Linked DNA regions of Homo sapiens: all the other regions are linked to region 1. The links are contacts of gene promoters, found by promoter capture Hi-C in human tissues and cell types (Jung and others, 2019). All regions are on one chromosome and are shown on one strand. The core of a region is centred on a gene start or on the middle of the fragment in contact, and the rest is flanking DNA. Distances in the headings are between cores, read along the strand shown.

Evidence for each region. Contacts are between HindIII fragments. The study calls those that stand out against the background at their distance.
Region 2: a fragment that was not itself captured here is called in contact with the fragment with the promoter of LRP2 in region 1 in 1 of the 25 tissues and cell types used here (neural progenitor cells).
Region 3: a contact is called between a fragment that was not itself captured here and the fragment with the promoter of LRP2 in region 1, in 1 of the 25 tissues and cell types used here (adrenal gland).

Annotation. Positions count from the first base shown.
Region 1 is chr2:169,359,781-169,364,602 of GRCh38, forward strand. It overlaps LRP2 (LDL receptor related protein 2), which reads right to left and starts at 2,754. Exons shown (of 79, transcript NM_004525.3): 1 at 2,541-2,754. The coding sequence starts at 2,619. RefSeq lists enhancers at 2,605-3,238, 3,239-3,872. The HindIII fragment of the contact is 10,463 bases long and covers 1-4,822 here.
Region 2 is chr2:169,321,812-169,326,633 of GRCh38, forward strand. The region is part of intron 1 of LRP2 (LDL receptor related protein 2); the gene reads right to left. Among named protein-coding and RNA genes, the nearest start is that of LRP2, 38 kb to the right of the region's middle. The HindIII fragment of the contact is 4,731 bases long and covers 119-4,822 here.
Region 3 is chr2:169,396,365-169,401,186 of GRCh38, forward strand. No RefSeq gene overlaps it. Among named protein-coding and RNA genes, the nearest start is that of LRP2, 36 kb to the left of the region's middle. The HindIII fragment of the contact is 5,640 bases long and covers 7-4,822 here.

The DNA.
Region 1 (4,822 bases), core at 1,504-4,003:
AAACATGGACAGTAAGTTAGGGAGCATGACATTTTTTGTACAAAAGAAAAAAGAGAAATCGGGCCAGGTGCAGTGGCTCACACCTGTAATCCTAGCACTTTGGGAGGCCTAGGCGGGCAGATCACTTGAGGTCAGGAGTTCAAGACTGGCCTGGCCAACATAGCAAAACCCTGCCTCTACTAAAAATACAAAATATTAGCTGGGCATGGTGCCCCGGGCTTGTAGTCCCAGCTACTTGGGAGGCTGAGGTGTGAGGATCGCTTGAACCTGGGAGGCAGAGGTTGCAGTGAGCCGAGATTGCACCACTGCACTCCAGCCTGGGTGACAGAGCGAGATTCTGTCTCTCTCAAAAAAAAAAAAAAAAAAAAGAGAGAGAGAGAGAGAGAAAACCAGACACTGTATACTGTAGCAATTATAGACTCTGAATTCAGAATCCCTTGAGTTTGCCATTTTCTAGCAGTATGAACTGAGACAAATTACTGAATTGTTCTGTGCCTCCACTTTCTCATCTGTAAAACAGTGATAATAAGAGTACTTACTTCCAAGGGATATTATGAAGATTAATTGAGTCAATAAGTATAAAGTGCTTAGAACAAAGCCTGCCACATATATGTGTATGCTAGGTTACTATTACTATACACATTATTATTATATATTATTATCATAGAATGGAAGATGGATGGGTGCAAAAAACTATCAAGAAGAGTAGGTATTGGTTATTTAGTGACTAAATCATCAACCCAGGAAAAAGAATATCTGTTTTGGTTGTACAAGGACATAGATGAATCAAGGTAAGATTTCCTTTTGCCAGGCACTGACAGGAACATATAGTAAATCCTATAGCTATATTTAGGACATGAGATACAACCCTAAGCATTGTGCAAACTCTGCACAATAATAATAAACCCTCTTTCTGCGTTACCAACACTGAGAAAGGGTGTTCAAAGGAAGGTTATTAATGATCTCTCCTTGCCTCTCCTGCCTTTCTGAAGACTTTTGCAAGACCTGTGGGGTTTGTTAGGGTTTCCAAACTTCTTCCCAGGAAGTCTGAAATGGGTGCTGCTAGGAGTTGCTGTATAATTACTTACTTGATTCCCTCTAAGGAGCTTACGCTAAGAATTGAGGAAAGAAAGCAGATTAACCATTTGAATACATGCCACGGCCCATCCACAAGCCCTCCCCTCACTCCTCCGTAAATGGGGGCTTCCACATTCCCCACCCATCAACCCCAATATGTGATCCAGGAAAATCAATTTATTGCTTTGGCTAATCCTACAACAATAGGGGTTTCATTTTCATTGTAGGGCAATTAAGTTGTCCGACGGGAGGGAAGGAGCAGGAGGGGAAAGGGGGGACTCTCCCATCCCCACAGACAGATTAGTCCCTGCGGTGGCAGCAGCGTCCCCTCTGTCTGTCTGGTGGTCGGTCACACGCAGCTCCCGGCTGCTACCTAGCAACGCAAAGCCAGGGGGAGAGCTCGCCGGTTCCAGCCTCCTCCTCGCCCTTCCCATTCATCCTCGGCCGGGTCTCTGTCTCTCTGTCTCTCTCTGTCTCTCTCTGTCTCTCTCTGTCTCTCTCTCTCTCTCTCTCTCTCTCCCTCTCTCTCTCTCTCTCTGTCTCTCTCCTCTCTCTCCTCTCTCTCTCTCTTCTCCCGCCCCAGTCGTTCTCTTCCCTCCTTCTTTCCTTATTCCTATTTGCTTCTCTTACGCTCTCTCCTCTTCCCTTCTTACTAGTTTTATTCTCTCCGCTTCTTTCTCCCTCTCTTTCCCTCTTCTCTGTTTCTGTTAAAACATAAACTATCGGACAACTTGAGAGAAGTTTAAAGCACTTCATACTAGAAACTTTCTGCATTCGATCCCCAAAACTCTGGCCATGCAGACGGGCCCCATTCATCAACACAAAAGCCCCCAGCTCCCAGCTGGAAAGGAAAACTTCAAGAAAAGACTCCAGTCCCTCAGCCACTCTCTCGGCCAATCCCACCTCCCGGCCTTATCTTGGCTCGTAAATGATCTGTATGGTGAGAGCGGTCTCTGGGGGTCACCGCGGGACCAAGTTTCGCCGGTGGTGGGAGGAGTGCTCTGGCCCGCGGCCCTGGGCGCGCGAAGGGATCCCGGGAGGGGCGCTGCAGGTGGAAAGCTGCGCTCTGAGCAGAGCCCGGGACCGCGCCGCCCAGCAGAGAACTCCGCTAGGGAGGGCAGGCTGCAAACGGCGGAGAACCTCGTTCTCCCGCAAAGTGCTTTCCAGGAGCATCGGACCAACGCCCGTGGGAACAAAGACAGGGTCTCCGTGGGGTGCGCTGTCACCGAAACTGGCGGGGCTGCTTTCTCAAGTTTGCTGCCGCTCAGTTCCTGGCGAGCGAAGAGGGGCGCTCCCGCTCCGGCTTCGCGAAGCAACCTGAGCGCCCCACCGGGAGCAGCTCCCGCGCCGCCGCCCGGCCCTAGCCCCTGCCCGGACGCTCTCCCCTCCGGCCTCCCGCGGACCCGACCCTGCCACAGCCGGGGAAGTGGGGGCTCCACGAGAGGCTCTGGCTGGGCTCTTACCTTGGCCACTGGCCGGCGCTAGGCAGGCGACGAGAGCCAGGAGCAGCGTGCACGCCACTGCTGCCGGCCCGCGATCCATCTCCGCGACGGTCCCCGGCCTCGCCGTTCCTTCCCCGGGAGGTGGGCGCGCGTAGCACACCGCACCGGCAGCGCCTCTGCTAGCGAACGCTCCTTTAGGTCTGCACCTCCGCCAGCTCCTAGTGGCCAAAAGCCTGCCCCCACGCCCGAGGCATCCCGTTTTCTACCCGCGCCAGTCCCCACCCTCCAGACAGTGCATAAAGCCCTTTAGACCCGACCGCCCCGGAACAAGCATGCGGGAATCCAGCGGGCAGGCCCCCTGCCGCCCGGCCCGCCCCCTGCACTTTGCAGCGCGGGGAGGAGTGGGCACTCGAACACACGCGTGCTCACACAGGGACACTCACACAGGCGTGTGCACACTCACACACGCACTCATACAGGCGCATGCACTCCTAAGTGTCACACCAACTGACACAGATTCACTCATACACGCCAGTCACACACGCGCGCACATTCCACAGTCACACTTCAACGCCGACATACACAGTCCCCTTTACGCGTGCATACAAGAGCACACTCCTGTGCGCACACTCTCACAGGCACACTCACACGTGCACACGCGCTGCCCTCGCCTCTCCGCAGGGTTTGCCCCGCACAGAAGCCGGCGAGGCGGCTCACGGGGAAATCTGCACGGACGCAGTTTTACTAAATGAGCAATGGAAAGAAATGGACGAGGAGGAAAGTCAAGAATAGAGAAGAGAAAGAAAAAATAAGAAATGGAAAAGGAAAGCACAACCAGACAAGTAAAAATGAAGGAAAGAGAAAGAAAGGGAAAGAGGCGGGGGTAGGGAAGGGAAGGAGTAAAGAGCCTGCTGGATGGAGATCTGTGACCTTCATTCCTGGCCTGATCTCTCTAGGCTCCTTCGGATATCTTGGTTTCCCCTGATAGGATACAGGCTGCTGAGATGGGGTGCTTTGTGTTTTTACAAATTAGAGAGGGAGGTGGATCTTTGTTGGGGAGGTTGGATCCTTATTTAGCAATTATTCAGCACCACATCTACAGGTGTCATGGCCAGATCGTGCTTCTTACAAGTCTGCTCATTTTGAAGCAAAATTGAAAAAGAGCGAACGTCTTCTCCATGGTTCCGGTACCCTTTTATAAGAAGGAGAAACACGAGAGGTTCAGGGAACCCCTAGCCTCCCTTCTTTGGGGCCGCTTTGGACAGGCTGGCAAGGGGCCCGGAAGCCAAAAGCACAAGTGGCCTTACACCCGCCCTCAGCGCACGTCCTCAGCCTGTACGTGACATCAGAGCCCACAGGGAGGGGTAAAAAAGGAGGGTTGATGCAAGTTATTTCCCGGTGGTGGGAACCCTGTGTGAGAAGGGGCTGTTTGCGGGCCTGAGGCCATCCCATCATCTCCAGCTCCAGCCCCTGAACCAGCGCGGCAGCTAGTCCCAGGCTCCGGATCCTGGTCCAAGAAGTCAGGAGCCCTTTCCCTCCAGCGAAGGGGCCGTGACGCATGGAGGAGACAGCCCTGAACGCACGTGGTCGCTGGACAGGTTCCCGCTGCCTCCCTTCCCCAGGGGCGAGAACCTGCCAATTACTGCCAGCCCCTTTCCCCGGGGCACAGGTCGTCCGGGGCTCTGCTGACCCCAACAGTCCGGATCGCGTAGCTTCCGTGGGCTGCAGTGGTAGGCGCAGCTTTAGGTGTGGGGGCTAGGGGAGGGAAAGGATAGGTGTTACTTTGGAAAGACAAAAAGAGATAAATAGACACAAAAAGAGAAAACTTAGGCTTAAAGAAAAAAAGGTGGAGCGGGCAGCGTTGTGGGAAAGAGTGGGAGAGATTCCTGGATTGGGAAATCCAGAGGTCTGTGCTCTGGCCAAAGTCACTGGTTCTCTATTTGCCTCCCTGCATAGTGTTGGGCGCTGTGCGGCGCGGAGGAGACAGGACTGGGGACAGGAGAGCCGGGGTCTGGGGAGGGAGGGGGCGACCGGACCGGAGCGGGAGGAGGGAGGCGGCGAGGGGGCTTGATGCTGCACTCCAGTCTTCGCGGGTGATTTATGCCGGTTCCGGGCGGCCGAGGCGATGGTACGAGACCGCGCCGGGGTCAAGCCGGTCCGACGCCCGCTGGGGCCGCGCTGCATAGTCAATGAGCGTCCCCGCACCTCCGACTTACAAAGAGCGGCCGCCGGCTGGCGGGAGGGAGGAGCGCGAGTGCGGGAGGGGCTGGGCTCCCTCCAGTGCGCCCGTGGGCGCGCAGGCG
Region 2 (4,822 bases), core at 1,234-3,733, 38 kb before region 1:
GTGGCAGTGATAGTCCCTAGTGATACTGGAAGGACAATATAACTTAAACAAGCTCACTTCACTGAACTAATATATCCTGTGATTTTCCTAGGTCTCCCCAAGGGACAAAGTTCCCCAAATACCTGGCCAGTGACCTTCCCAAGCATTATGTGCCACATAGAAAAATTTTTCAAAGAAAGCAGCCACTACCAGCCCCACTTAGAGAAGACTCAAAATTATTTTATTCTTTCACAAACCCAAGGGATAAAGGAGAAATTTTTGCAGTTGGAAGAATAATTATATCTTCCCCATGTATTTAAGCAATCATGCTAAATTACCCATTTCAATTTTTGGCTAATTAACCAAAATTAGGTAAATATACAGATCAAGTACCTACTCCTAAAATAAATAAGCAATGTGCTATCCTGATTTGTGTAAATGCAGGCATATCAACAGCATGACATAAACATAGTTAAGTGATCTATTTCTAGGGTATATAGGCTACTTTGTTCATGGAATGTTCAAATCTGATTGTCTGGTAGTGACATCCTGATTTATAATGTATGCTGCAAATGGTCAGAAACTTCGCTTGGCTAAATGGTGGTACCGAGTGGTACAGGAGTACGTACACCCAAATACCTTCTATAGACTAATGCATGATGGTGGTTGGTGGTGCAGGTCTGGGGTTGGTGGTGCAGGTCTCTTATCAACTACCTTTAAAACACAACAACCTCCCTTGCAAAAATGCCCCTAAGGAATGTACAAATTCACTCTGGAATCCCAGAACTTCTCATTGGATTTTGTTCTACAAAGCAATATTTCCATGGGAGATTAGGGGCTTTGGAGGTTTAGCTATTAACACAACATATATTAAATCACTTTTATCAATTAGGTCTATTGTTAGTAATCCAACATAATACATTTGTAAGTTCAGTACATTTGTCTCCCTTAGTATCTGAGGTTGTAAAGGTAGTATCTTCTGGTTGAAAAATTATAACAATCATAAAGAACAGTCCTCTTACAGACAGTTTCATATTGCTATGGAGAAAAGAAAAATATAAATTTAGAGACTGAGTATTTAGGAGGAAATTATCAGAACAATATATATTGCCTGTTTTGAAAATATATATAATTAATGCTATTTCTTAAGCAACTTTTATTACAAGTCCCATTTTTGAGGAGTGGGGTGGGGGGATTTGTTTGTTTTTGCCAAACTAAAATACCAAGTTAAACACATCATGAAAAGAACACAAAATAGAGACTCAAAAGTCATTTTATAAAACACTTCAAAGTCAATTATTTAAAATCACACATATGAAAAATGAAACTGATGGGGAAATGTTGCAATTAACTAATTTTTATAGGTAGTGATTTTCACACTTGATCTCCTCACTCCATTATCTAATATATCAAATCCAATTTACTCAATTTATCAACAGATCTATAATTCATTTGTCAAATTCACCTTTTCAGTAGTAACTTCGATGCCTGTTTATAACTCCCAAACGACTATTGTTTGGAAATATCTCTCCAGAAAAAACAAACTGATACTTTATCATTGCTGGGTGACCTCTCAGCCATCAGCCAAAATGCTTCACTGGCCTCAGAAGCTCATTCTCTCATAAAGGGAATATGTGTTGTTTAAAAATAAACCAAAAATAAACCACTAGTGAAAAGGTCTAGATTAGGTCTAATAACAATTGCAGGTGCCCCTTACTTCAATTAGTCTATATGCAATTTATTTTGAGTGTTTTGTTTTAAATAAGTAGCCTTTACTCACAAGCCCTCCAAAAGTTTTATCTAGATATTATCTACATTTTGTTATTTATTTGAAGATTTAAAAAAAAAAAAAGCTAAGGGGATGATTTCATACATTGGAGCCACCCACAGGGAGAAAAAAAAAATCTACATAGAACCAGCTTTAAAACTTTGTTCAGAAAATAGTCTCAAAACTGCCACATTCAACCAATCCAGTTTTAGCCAAGAAGTAATCTTGCAAATAATCATTTATGTAACTTTAAAACATTCTCCAGGAGCCTCTCTGGTTTGGGGGCTGCCTGATTAAAAAAAAAAAAAAATCCCTCTAGTAAAAACCAAGGAGGAAAGGAGGAAAATACAATCCACATTGAAATAAAAACCTTTTGTTAAGAACCAGGCAATCATCACAAAGGAACCATCGGAACCAAATGAACACCCTATCTCTCCAGCACTAGCCCCTGTCTGTCCCATCAATCAGAATAGATGGTGCAAAGATGAAAAGAAGTACTCATATAGCACTTAAATGGCACACACCATTCTAAGTGCTCTGCCAACATTAGCTCATTTAATCCTCATAATAACCCTATGAAATAGATACTGTTATTATGAATATTTTACAAATAAATAAATTGAAGCACAGAGCAATTCGGTAACTTGCCCAAGATCCAACAGCAAATATGTGCAAAGCAAGGATTTGAATCTGACAGCTCTGATTCCAGCATTCGTGCTACTTGACCACTACTCTATGTTCCCTTTCACCAAAAAAAAAAGTTTATTCCACTAAACTCAAGAATGAATGTAAAAATCTGATTTTTTTCCCCCAAAGCTGCTCTCAATTAACATTAATTGAGTTCATTATTGGGCTGGCATAGAATCCATAGTGCTTATATACTTCAGTTGGAGAAAAAGAGTAGTTTACTTGGTGACTAACATAGCATTAAAAAATTATTGGGCTTAGGAAAAATTGCAGCAATTGAAAGCAATGCAAAAAAAATTTAAGCGTTTTGAAATCGGTAGTAAAATTTTATTAGACATAGGAATAAACTTGTTTTCCAACCTCATAAAGAGCCCAAAGCTAGGGGAAAAAAAAAAAAAAAGAGTAATCCTTTCTTCATAAGTAGCCATATCCCAAGCTTCCTGGGTAAGTGTTGGACTAAGAATGTGTTAAGATAAGATATTAGAGTAACAGATAGCGCCCAGAGAAGAGGAGTCATTTGCCTGTTTGTTTTCCACAGCAAGGAACAACACTGGATTGAGAGCATTCCTCTGTGTCATTTACAGCCTCTGGCACAGCACCGGGTGCTTATGGAATAGCTAATGCATGTTCGTCAGGAAGTGTAGAATTCTCTTTGTAAAACTCAGCCTGCTGAGACCATTATATATCAGAGATATAGAAAGCTATCAGAGCAAACAATGAGACTTTAAATAGAAATTTACCATCTTAAATCCATAGAAAGAAAAATGGAATCTGGAATAATCTGAAAAAAGGGGAATATCTAGAAGTTTTTTTCAAAAAAAAAAAAAAAGAAAGAAAAAAACATTGAGTCATATTAATAGCAGTTTCATTCTTTTACCCGTTCCTTGTAAGTTTCTTTCTCCTTCCATAAATTCTATTCTTATAAGACAAAGACAAGTGGTAGTCAATGGAACATTGTCCAAAGTTAACAGAGTAAGGTAATTTCTGTGGCAAATCCTATTTCCCCGCTAGATCCTCTTAACACATGCTGGTCCTTCCAAACACTTGGTCTACCTGAGGAGGTACAGTCCTCTTTTTAAAAATTTGTATGAGTAAATCACATTTTAATAGTTCCACCTTCACTGAACTCAAAGAAACAAACAAATTTAAGAGGCAATTCCTTAACTTATCCATAATTTTTGCTTCACTTTTTCTATACTTAATTTTGATTCCTTTGGTATGGATAGACATCCTTCTGATATTCATAAGTTGGCTGACAGTTCACTACAATTCCCATACCTTGCCCACATAAACAAGGCCAGTCCCCTTTTGAAGATTTAGAGTCACCTGCTTATTTCCAAAACTTTACACTATAGTGATGATAGCCAAGGGTAACAAATTGTATGGAGCACTCTACCCTGTCTAGTGTCAAATTGATAGAATAGTCAAGGATTCAGTTAATGAAACTGAAACAAGACAGGAACAGCAAACCAACCTGCTAGTCTCTTTCTGTGCAACATTTTAACTGTCTGGTTTTCCTTACAGATCATCAAATAGGTGGCAGGAATTCTTTTGGGTTTTTTTTTTAATCCAGTTTACAAACCACTGAATAGACTGCTTTGTCCCAATTATTGATTCAGAGCCCTGATGTTTTCTTAGAGCAAAACAATACTATAAGGACATTTCAAGAAGTCAAAGATTTGGGGACAAAACCCACAATGCAAATTGATGCATTATCATGTAGACACATCATTTAAGTGCAAAAATAAATGAATAAATAAATAAGGACCAAAAGAATATGATGCCAGATTCACTAAAGCCACAAATAAATTCATAACTACTATATGCAATTGTCCTAGGATCAGTGGAAGAAAAAAGAAAAATAAGATATGGTCCTTTTTTGCTCTGCCTCTCCCTCTCCCTCTCCCTCTCCCTCTCCCTCTCCCTCCCCCTCTCCCCTCTCCCCTCTCCCCTCTCCCCTCTCCCCTCTCCCTCTCGGTCTCCCTCTCCCTCTCTTTCCACGGTCTCCCTCTGATGCCGAGCCGAAGCTGGACTGTACTGCTGCCATCTCGGCTCACTGCAACCTCCCTGCCTGATTCTCCTGCCTCAGCCTGCCGAGTGCCTGCGATTGCAGGCGCGCGCCACCACGCCTGACTGGTTTTCGTACTTTTTTGGTGGAGACGGGGTTTCACTGTGTTGGCCGGGCTGGTCTCCAGCTCCTAACCGCGAGTGATCCGCCAGCCTTGGCCTCCCGAGGTGCCGGGATTGCAGACGGAGTCTGGTTCACTCAGTGCTCAATGGTGCCCAGGCTGGAGTACAGTGGCGTGATCTCAGCTCGCTACAACCTCCATCTCCCAGCCGCCTGCCTTGGCCTCCCAAAGTGCCGAGATTGCAGCCTCTGCCCGGCCA
Region 3 (4,822 bases), core at 1,577-4,076, 37 kb after region 1:
AAGTCTAATCTACTGAATTTGGGAAAATACAAATATGCTCAATTCAGTTAAAGAGCTTAGAAGTAAATGAAATCAAATCTGCATTGTTTTAACCAAACAAGGGATTTTTAAAATTTTACTTACAAATATCCAGCTTTATCTAATTTTATGATATGTTTTCTTCGGGGCCCTTACAATGCTGTGGTGTGTCTTGGGGGCCATGATATGGCTGTGGCATGGCTAAATGGACCACCAGCTTCCAAGGAGATTTGTCAGCAAGTGTAAGATAAACAGAAGTCAGAGATATGTTCAAGAGTGTTGGAGGGGTTTGGAAGGAGGAGGAGGAGAAGGGGAATCAAAGACTTGCAGACCATGAGAGGTGAGGATGTCCAGCTCCTCTGCGTTCCATTTCCTCTAATCTGGATTGGCATGTCTGACCAAATTCTTGCCTTTGGTGCCACTTGTAAAATCCTAAAAGATGAGAACATCAGAGCACTATTTAATGTCTTTTTTTAAAGTATGGTCTCAATTCAGAATAAGGCAGATCTACATTAACTGATTCAAAGCAATGTCCAAGATACTTTATTAAATGTAAAAAAAAAAAAGTTTCAGAATGGCATGTTGACTATGCCATTTGTGTATTTAAAAACAGAGGAGCTATGTAGACATAAATGCTTATGTATGTATAGAGTATATCTAGATTCTGGAAGGATGCACTAGAGGGAGGTAATGGTAAGGGAACTGTGAGGCTGAGAAATCCCCCTATATTATATAACCTTCTGAAGTTTCACCTTTTTCCTAGTTTAAAATGGTAATCATATAATAAAACATACCATTTCACTAAAAGAGCTAGATTTTCCAGACAAATATTTGACATATGGAACTTTGAAATTTTACATAGTCAGAACTGTACAGAAATCAAGTCACAAAATAATGTCTTACACAGCTGGCCAAGCTTATCCCAGAATGATTTTTTTTTTTTTTTTTTTTGAGATAAGGTCTCACTCTTGTCACCCAGGCTGGAGTGCAGTGGTGCGATCACGGTTCACTGCAGCCTCAATCTCCTGGACTCAAGCGATCCTCCCACCTCAACCTCCTGAGTAGCTGGGATCAACAGGCCCGCGTGCCACCATGCCCGGCTAATTTTTTTTTTTTTTCTAGAGAGAGGGTCTCACTATGTTGCCCGGGCTGGTCTTGAACTCCTGGGCTCAAGTGATCCTCCTCCCTCAGTCTCCCAAAGTGCTGGGATTATAGGCATGAACCACCACACCCAGCCCAGAATAATTTTAGAACTGCAAATGTAGTGCATTTTTGTTAAAGATGTTTCTTTGGCTGCTATTTTTAGTCTTTTTTTCCTCCTCAGATTCTCTGAAGATTATAATCTTCATGGTAGTGGACTAGAAATCACAAAGATTTTAAGAGAGAAAATGTGTCCTATTAGCTATAAATAAAATCACTCTCCTAACTCTCTCCGGAGAGAATGAGAAAGAAAAGCTGGAGTCATAAAAGAGTGTTCTTTCCCTGTGACTGTGGATCAAGATTGACACCCAGTGGCCAGATACAATCCTTTTTTTCACTGACATTCTTGCTATATAATTTGACATTTCTAAAATTTCCCTTTATGTTTTAGAGGAAAAAATGATTTAAATCTGTGATGTTTACTGAAAGCGAACTGTATCTTAGACAGCCAGGTTAAATTAGTAGGTCTTGTTTCATACATAATTAACAGGTTTATTTCTGTATCCTCTCTGCTTGCATTTTTTCCTAACATTAAGAAGCAATTTTCATTCGGTTGACAAAACAATGTACACTAAGTCCTGTGGAAATGCAACTTTAAGCAAAATGAGGTACAACAGGTCTTTGAATAATGTCTTTTTTTTTTTTTTTTTTTTTTGAGATGGGAGTCTCACTAAGTTGCCCAGGCTGATCTTGAACTCCTGGCCTCAAGCAAGCCTCTTGACTCAGCCTCCTGAGAAACTAAGATTATTGGCATGAACCACCATGGCTGGCTTAGTTATAATGTCAATGAGAAAAATAAAATCGGTTTTGTTATATCTTATTTTGCTTAAAGTTGCCATTTCCAAGAACCTATTGATGACATTGAGGACTTAATGTATTCATTTTTTTTTTTCTTTTGAGACAAAGTCTCACTGTCGCCCAGGCTGGAGTACAGTGGCATGATCTCAGCTCACTGCAACCTGTGCCTCCCAGGTTCAAGCGATTCTCCTGCCTCAGCCTTCCAAGTAGCTGGGATTACAGGCATGCACCACCATGCCCAGCTAATTTTTGTATTTTTAGTAGAGACGGGGTTCCACCATGTTGGCCAGTCTGGTCTCGAACTCTTGACCTCAGGTGATCCGCCCGCCTCGGCCTCCCAAAGTACTGGGATTACAGGTGTGAGCTACTGCACCCAGCCATGATGAAGTCAATATTTTAGCAAATAAAACTAACATGTTTAACACAGATTACCAAAGAGAAAAGTCGTGAATTTAAGAATTAGACACATCAAAGTCCAAATTCTAGCTGGGCAATCTTGAGCAAGTCTCTGAATTTTACTAAATTTCAATTTCCTCCCTATCGTGAGGATTAAATGAGATGCAAATTTAAAATGCTTATCTTGGTACTTGCATGTATGTTATGAAATACACACACACACACACACACACACACACACACACACACAGATATACGTACACGTGGTAGCTATTTTCTGGTAGTTACTACCAGAAAAAGCAAGTTTGTGAAAGTCAAACCCACATGAAGAATATATCTCTTCTTGAATCAACCTTATAGTACCTAGTTTGATGGAGAAGAACAGTGACCCCAGATAATCTAAACTTATAAATAATTCAAAAGATCAAGAAGATGGCCAAACAGGAACAGCTCCCAGTGTGAGCAACGCAGAAGACGTACGATTTCTGCATTTCCAACTGAGGTACTGGGTTCATCTCACTGGGGATTGTCGGACAGTGGGTACAGGACAGTGGGTGCAGTGCACTGAGCATAAGCCGAAGCAGGGCGAGGCATCGCCTCACCCAGGAAGCACAAGGGGTCAGGGAATTCCCTTTCCTAGCCAAGGAAAGGGGTGACAGACGGCACCTGGAAAATCGGGTCCCTCCCACCCTAATACTGCGCTTTTCTGATGGTCTTAGTAAACGGCACACCGGGAGTTTATATCCCACGCCTGGCTCAGAGGGTCCTACACCCATGGAGCCTCGCTCATTGCTAGCACAGCAGTCTGAGATCAAACTGCAAGTCAGCAGCGAGGCTGCGGGAGGGGCGCTCAGAATTGCCAAGGCTTGAGTAGGTAAACAAAGCGGCTGGGAAGCTCGAACTGGGTGGAGCCCACCACAGCTCAAGGAGGCCTGTCTACCTCTATAGACTCCACCTCTGGGGGCTGGGCATAGCCAAACAAAAGGCAGCGGAAACCTCTGCAGACTTAAATGTCCCTGTCTGACAGCTTTGAAAAGAGTAGTGGTTCTCCCAGCACGCAGCTTGAGATCTGAGAACGGACAGACTGCCTCCTCAAGTAGGTCCCCGACCCCCAAGTAGCCTAACTGGGAGGCACCCCCAAGTAGGGGCAGACTGACACCTCACACGGCCGGGTACTCCTCTGAGACAAAACTTCCAGAGGAATGATCAGGCAGCAACATTTGCTGTTCACCAATATCTGCTGTTCTGCAGCCTCCGCTGCTGATACCCAGGCAAACAGGGTCTGGAGTGGACCTCCAGCAAACTCCAAAAGACCTGCAGCCGAGGGTTCTGTCTGTTAGAAGGAAAACTAACAAACAGAAATGACATCCACACCAAAAACCCATCAGTACGTCACCATCATCAAAGACCAAAGGTAGATAAAACCACAAAGATGGGGAAAAAACAGAGCAGAAAAGCTGAAAATTCTAAAAATCAGAGTGTCTCTCCTCCTCCAAAGGAACGCAGCTCCTCACCAGCAACGGAACAAACCTGGACAGAGAATGACTTTGACAAGTTGAGAGAAGGAGGCTTCAGATGATCAAACTATTCCAAGCTAAAGGAGGAAGTTCGAACCAATGGCAAACAAGTTAAAAACCTTGAAAAAAATTAGACAAATGGCTAACTAGAATAACCAATGCAGAGAAGTCCTTAAAGGACCTGATGGAGCTGAAAACCATGGCACGAGAACTACGTGACAAATGCACAAGCCTCAGTAGCTGATTCGATCAACTGGAAGAAAGGGTATCAGTGATGGAAGATGAAATGAAAGAAATGAAGCAAGAAGAGAAGTTTAGAGAAAAAGCAATAAAAAGAAACGAACAAAGCCTCCAAGAAATATGGGACTATGTGAAAAGACCAAATCTACATCTGATTGGTGTACCTGAAAGTGACGGGGAGAATGGAACCAAGTTGGAAAACACTCTGCAGGATATTATCCAGGAGAACTTCCCCAATCTAGCAAGGCAGGCCAACATTCACATTCAGGAAATACAGAGAACACCACAAAGATACTCCTCGAGAAGAGCAACTCCAAGACACATAATTGTCAGATTCAACAAAGTTGAAATGAAGAAAAAATGTTAAGGGCAGCCAGAGAGAAAGGTCGGGTTACCCACAAAGGGAAGCCCATCAGACTAACAGCTGATCTCTCGGCAGAAACTCTACAAGCCAGAAGAGAGTGGGGGCCAATATTCAACATTCTTAAAGAAAGAATTTTCAACCCAGAATTTCATATCCAGCCAAACTAAGCTTCATAAGTGAAGGACAAATAAAATCCTTTACAGACAAGCAAATGCTGAGAGATTTTGTCACCACCAGGCCTGCCCTAAAGGAGCTCCTGAAGGAAGCACTAAACATGGAAAGGAACAAC